Regions from separate parts of the Homo sapiens genome. Here region 2 is linked to region 1. Evidence: promoter capture Hi-C in human tissues and cell types (Jung and others, 2019). All regions are on one chromosome and are shown on one strand. The core of a region is centred on a gene start or on the middle of the fragment in contact, and the rest is flanking DNA. Distances in the headings are between cores, read along the strand shown.

Region 1 (2,702 bases), core at 125-2,624:
CCGTCAGAGCTGCCAGCTCCACTCACCAGGTATCCTGGCCGCATTGAGGATGGCTGAGGGCAAGAGAAGGAAACGGTTAGGCCGGTGAGGGGCCCCAGGACACAGTGGTGAGGGGCCCTCAACGCCCAGTGAGGAAGGCCCCCAACACCCAGTAAGAAGGGATCCCAGTGCCCAGTGAGGTGGAGGTCCCAGCACCCAGTGAGGAGGGTCCCTCAGCGCCCAGTGAGGAGGGGTCCCAGCACCCCCTGAGGAGGGTCCCTCAGCGCCCAGTGAGGAGGGGTCCCAGTACCCAGTGAGGAGGGTCCCTCAGCGCCCAGCGAGAAGCCCCCAGCACCCAGTGAGAAGGGGTCCAGTGCCCAGTGGGAAGGGGTCCCAGCACCCAGTGAGGAGGGGTCCCCAGCGCCCAGTGAGGAGGGCTCCCCAGCGCCTAGTGAGGAGGGTTCCCCAGCGCCCAGTGAGGAGGGGTCCCCAGCGCCCAGTGAGGAGGGCTCCCCAGCGCCCAGTGAGGAGGGGTCCCCAGCGCCCAGTGACGAGGGGGTCCCAGCGCTCAGTGAGGAGGGGGTCCCAGCGCCCAGTGAGGAGGGGTCCCAGCGCCCAGTGAGCAGGCGTCCCAGCGCCCAGTGAGGAGGGGGTCCCCTTGAGTACCTGGTGGTGAGGAACCTCTAGCCCTCCAGTGCCCAGGGAGACTCTCAAGTCTCTCAACCCCAGGGCCCCTACCGGCGGGGCATTTCCTGGGGCCTGGCCAGGCCCTGGCTGCACAGCTGTGACCCTGCCCTCCCGCAGCTTCCCGTCCAGCCTGCCTTCCGGGGACCAGGACCGGCTCCTCGAGGGAGGCACAGACCTGAGCCCCTCGGCTCTGGACGCTGCTGCCGCTGGTGTGCCCTCCCCTGACCTCCTGCGGCAGGAACAACACAAAACGGTGCTTCCCCAGAGGCAAGCAGCGGAGGACGAGGAGATGGGAGAACACGGAGGCGAGAGGGAGCAGGCGATGGCGACGCCGACGGTAACTGGAGACCGAGGCGCGCTGCGTACTTGCTGCGTTTTCTGTTTCATCCTCACAGCCGTAGAAGAAACCGAGGCACAGAGCAGTTAAGGAGCAAGAGATAAACAGAGCAGAAGCGGAAAGGAGATGAGAGAGGCAAGGCCAGGAGGGAGAGAGGGAGGGAGGGAAGGAGGGAAGGAGGGTGGAGGTGAGAGGGAGGAGGGAGGAGCAGCCTCCGGACGTACCTGTCGACGCCAGCAGCAGCAGGGAGGTGAAGGTGCCGAGACAGCCCCCACCCAGGGCTGGGGGCGCTCCAGAAACCACCATGGCTGGTGGGGCGGGGGAGCAGGCAGCAGGCTCGAGAGACCCAGGGCGATGCGGGTCAGGGTGTGTAGGTTCCCTGCAGGTCGCCCCAGGTTTTATCCTGGGAGGCGGAATGCCGTCAGACCAGTCCCCAGGTGGCTCCCGCGGCCACCCCGGCTGTGGGTCCTGGGCAGAGGGCGGGGCTGCGGGGAGGAAGCCAGCCGCTACAGGGCTCTGGGGGGGCTCTAGCTGAGACCCCAGGATGTGGCCTCTGGAAGGGCAGGGGAGGGGGCTTGGGCCCAGAGGTCCCTGACATTAATTGTCCAGGGGCAGAGAAAGGTGCCAGGGCACTGAAAGGAAGGGGTTCCGGGCTGGGGAGGGCCTGGGTTTGGAGAGGCTGAAGTCTGGGGTACTGGGTGTTGGGGGTGGTCCTAGGGCCTTAGGGATCAAGGGGGTGCCCAAAGCTCAGTAACGGCTCCCACCTGCAGGGCCCCAGGCCCCTGTGACTCAGCCCAGAGACCTGGCGCAACCCGGGCTTGGGAATCCCGTTAACCCACTTCCCGAAAGCTGTGAATCAGGTGAGTGGCGACCTTGGTGGCCTCCTGGTGGCCGCCCTCCTGTCGTTCCTGGAGGCGGGGCTCTGCCCTGCGGTTCAGACACCTGACAACTCACCTCACCTGGACTCCTGGGAAGGGGAGGAGCCCATGGGCACCAGGGCTCGGCCAAGCAGGGGGGTTGAGAGAAGAGGGGCCCCGGGAAGGGCTGGGACTCCCAGGATTCAAAGAGCTGCTGGGCTGGGCTGTGGGGGGCCGGGTCCTGGGCTGGGAGTGGATTCTCGGTGCTTCCCCCCAGCGGCTGCCACAGTGGCAACCCGGGGCTGAATCCTGTGAGACCTTCCCTGACTCAGTGCCCTGCAGCGCCCCACACTTGGGACACTCCCACCCAAGCAGGGCAGGCTTCCTCCTCTACAAAGAGGCAGGAGCCTGCGCCCCTTCACTCATTCGATCAACAAGCCTCCAGCAGGGCCCTTGCTACCGCCGGGGGTGAATTAAAAACAACCATAGTGTCTGGGTGGGGTGGCTTATTCCTGTAATCCCAGCACTTTGGGAGGCCAAGACGGACAGATCATGAGGTCAGGAGTTCAATACCAGTCTGGCCAACATAGTAAAACCCCGTCTCTACTAAAAATACAAAAAAAAAAAAATTAGCCAGGCATGGTGGCAGGCGCCCTTAGTCCCATCTACTTGGGAGGCTGAGGCAGGAGAATCGCTTGAACCTGGGAGGCGGAGGTTGCAGTGAGCTGAGATCACGCCACTGCACTCCAGCCTGGGCGACAGAGCGAGACTCTGTTTCAAAAAAAAAAAAAAAAAACCATAGTAGTGAATATGTATGTAATAAATATATTTATACAAATATA
Region 2 (2,702 bases), core at 134-2,633, 1.0 Mb before region 1:
GCTCCTGGACACGGGGCTCAGTGGAGGGGGCACCATACCCACTCTTGCTGAACCAACAGTGGGAGCCAAGCCAGCACCAACCACGACACCCTCACTTCTCTCCTCTCCTTCCTTCCCTGTCCACCCTCCCCATTCACCTGGCTTCACAAACCCCCCAGTTCTCCCCAAGGGAGGATGGAAGGCCTGTTCTGCACAACTAGGTCAAGTCGTTCATTACCTTATCACCACAATTTGGACACTTAGGGGTGAACCTGCATCCCTCCTCTGTGGCTGCACATGGTAAAAGCCAGATAAAACATGACTGACGATGGTTTATCTCCCAACACCAGCCTTAGGAAACAGTTTCATATACTCACTTTTTCCTTTTTTTTCAATCCTGTGGTGGAGGGCATGTAGCCTTCTAAAGTACCAGGTCAAACCTCCCAGGCCGTGGGTCAACACTGACCTTAGCGGTGGGTCTTCACAGCTGGAGTCTGCGCCCTGAAGCAAGTGACTCTCAATGGTGTGCAGTTGAGCCGTTTACTTTGTGGCTGCTGCAAAGCAAACAGATAAAGTGGCAGCTGTCGTCCTCATGTCCTGAGTAGGTCCCCCTCAGAGTTCTGAGACCCAGGCATGCTCATGAACCTTTTGAAGTTGGTCTCCTCCCAGTTGATTCAGACTCAGTCATGTCAGCCCTGAGCCAGCAAGCCTCCACAAGCACTGGGCACTCCAGTGTGTCACCAGAGAAGACCAGGGACTAGAAGAGCCCCAGGTGCTCAAAGCAGTCGCACAGGATTGCCCACGACTTTGGCTATTCCCACCCAGCACCAAGAGCCCCTTGCCCTCATCCTGTCAGATCTGTCAGATGACGAGTCACCACCCAGCTCTCAGAAAGTAGTCTTTAGAGGTACTTTTTTTTTTTTTTTTTTTTTTTTTAAGACAGAGTCTCGCTCTGTCGCCCAGGCTGGAGTGCAGTGGCTGGATCTCAGCTCACTACAACCTCCTCATCCCAGGTTCAAGAGATTCTCCTGCCTCAGCCTCCCGAGTAGCTGGGACAACAGGCACGTGCCACCACACCCAGCTAATTTTTTGTATTTTTAGTAGAGATGGGGTTTCACTGTGTTAGCCAGGATGGTCTCGATCTCCTGACTGCCTTGGCATCCCAAAGTGCTGGGATTACAGGCATGAGCCACCGTGCCCAGCCCTTGAGGTCCTACTCTTTTTCCAGGGAACCAAGACAAATAATAAACTGGCTTAAGAAAATAAATCATTCACTCAGGATTAAGAAACTCACTCAAAGCCGTTCAACTACATGGAAAAGAAAATAAATCATTCAAATCTGTAGAAGATTAAATCTGTTTATTAATTCATGTAAACATTTTCCAACTTGGGAGGAGACAAGGCAAAGACAGTAGGAGGCCTTCTAAGAAGGGAGGTCAGATGAGAGAGGCCTTCAGACTCACCCAGACCACCTCCACCATAACAATTTCTAGAAACATGTTCACCACATGTAAACAAAATGCAATTTTCCCCATAATTTTCAAATTAATATTCCATTTTAAAGGGAGTTAAAACTCTTATACTTTTCCAGAGTTCAAAATGATAGACCGTTTTAAACATGTTTTTGTCCAGACAAGTTTCTGCTTGCCTCAGTAGGATCTGCAAGCTTGCACGAGAGTACACTAATTTTCAATCCACTCCTTGCTCTGTGTGATAGAACGAACTGCGAGGAGAAACAGAAAAAGAGACAAAAGGTTAATTTTTAAAATCCCCTTGTATATCAAGTTGAAAAATCAATGATCACGAATAGAGAACTGCAATGAAAGTTTTGTTTACAGATACTAATATAAACTTCCATTAGAGCTGTAAGATGATGGGAAGAGTTCCAGTCTCGGAGTACAGTTAATTTACAGGCCCAGCTTCTGACTGATTTTGTAAAAATTTTGTCACTTTTCATGCTATTTCTCTCAGGTAGGAAAGTTGGGATTAAAAGTCTAATGTGGCCGGGTGCTGGTGCAGTGGCTCACGCCTGTAATCCCAGCACTTTGGGAGGCCAAGGCGGGTGGATCACCTGAGGTCAGGAGTTCGAGACCAGCCTGGCTAACATGGTGAAACTCCCATTTCTACTAAAAATACAAAAAATTAGCCGGGCATGGTGGCACACACCTGTTATCCCAGCTACTCAGAAGGCTGAGGCAGGAGAATCCCTTGAACCCGGGAGGCAGAGGTTGCAGTGAGCAGAGATTGTGCCATTGCACTCCAGCTTGGGCAACTAGAGCGAAACTCTGTCCCCCCCACCCCCCCCCACTAAAAAAAATGTCTAATGCAGGGCTGGGTGAGGTGGCTCATGCCTGTAATCCCAGCACTTTGGGAGGCCAAGGCAGGTAGATCACTTGAGGCCTGAAGTTCAAGACCAGCCTGGCCAATAAAGTGAAACCCTGTCTCTACTAAAAATATAAAAATTAGCCAGGTGTGGTGGTGCACACCTGTGGTCCCAGCTACTCGGTGGCTGAGGCGGGAGGATCACTTGAGCCTGGGAAGGTTGAGGCTGCAGTAAGCTGTGATCGCACCACGTGCTCCAGCCTGTGTGACAGAGCGAGCAGAGTGAGACTGTGTCTCAAAAAAAAAAAAAAGTATAACATATGAAAAAGGGCTTAATGTGTGTTCAAACTACCAACTGTGATAGACTTTAAGCTGTAGCAGGGACTCAATCTGTGAGACTA

The links. The method cuts DNA at HindIII sites, captures the fragments that hold promoters and counts their contacts. A contact is called where the count stands out against the background at its distance.
Region 2: a contact is called between a fragment that was not itself captured here and the fragment with the promoter of PRSS22 in region 1, in 1 of the 25 tissues and cell types used here (spleen).

The regions. Positions count from the first base shown.
Region 1 is chr16:2,856,796-2,859,497 of GRCh38, forward strand. It overlaps PRSS22 (serine protease 22), which reads right to left and starts at 1,375. Exons shown (of 6, transcript NM_022119.4): 1 at 1,228-1,375; 2 at 27-53. The coding sequence starts at 1,309. RefSeq lists enhancers at 760-1,360, 1,361-1,961, 1,962-2,561. The HindIII fragment of the contact is 21,792 bases long and covers 1-2,702 here.
Region 2 is chr16:1,832,665-1,835,366 of GRCh38, forward strand. MEIOB (meiosis specific with OB-fold) reads right to left here. Exons shown (of 14, transcript NM_001163560.3): 14 at 1,322-1,702. The coding sequence ends at 1,592. It also overlaps a transcript of FAHD1 not described here. Among named protein-coding and RNA genes, the nearest start is that of FAHD1, 6.8 kb to the left of the region's middle. RefSeq lists a silencer at 184-478. The HindIII fragment of the contact is 8,140 bases long and covers 1-2,702 here.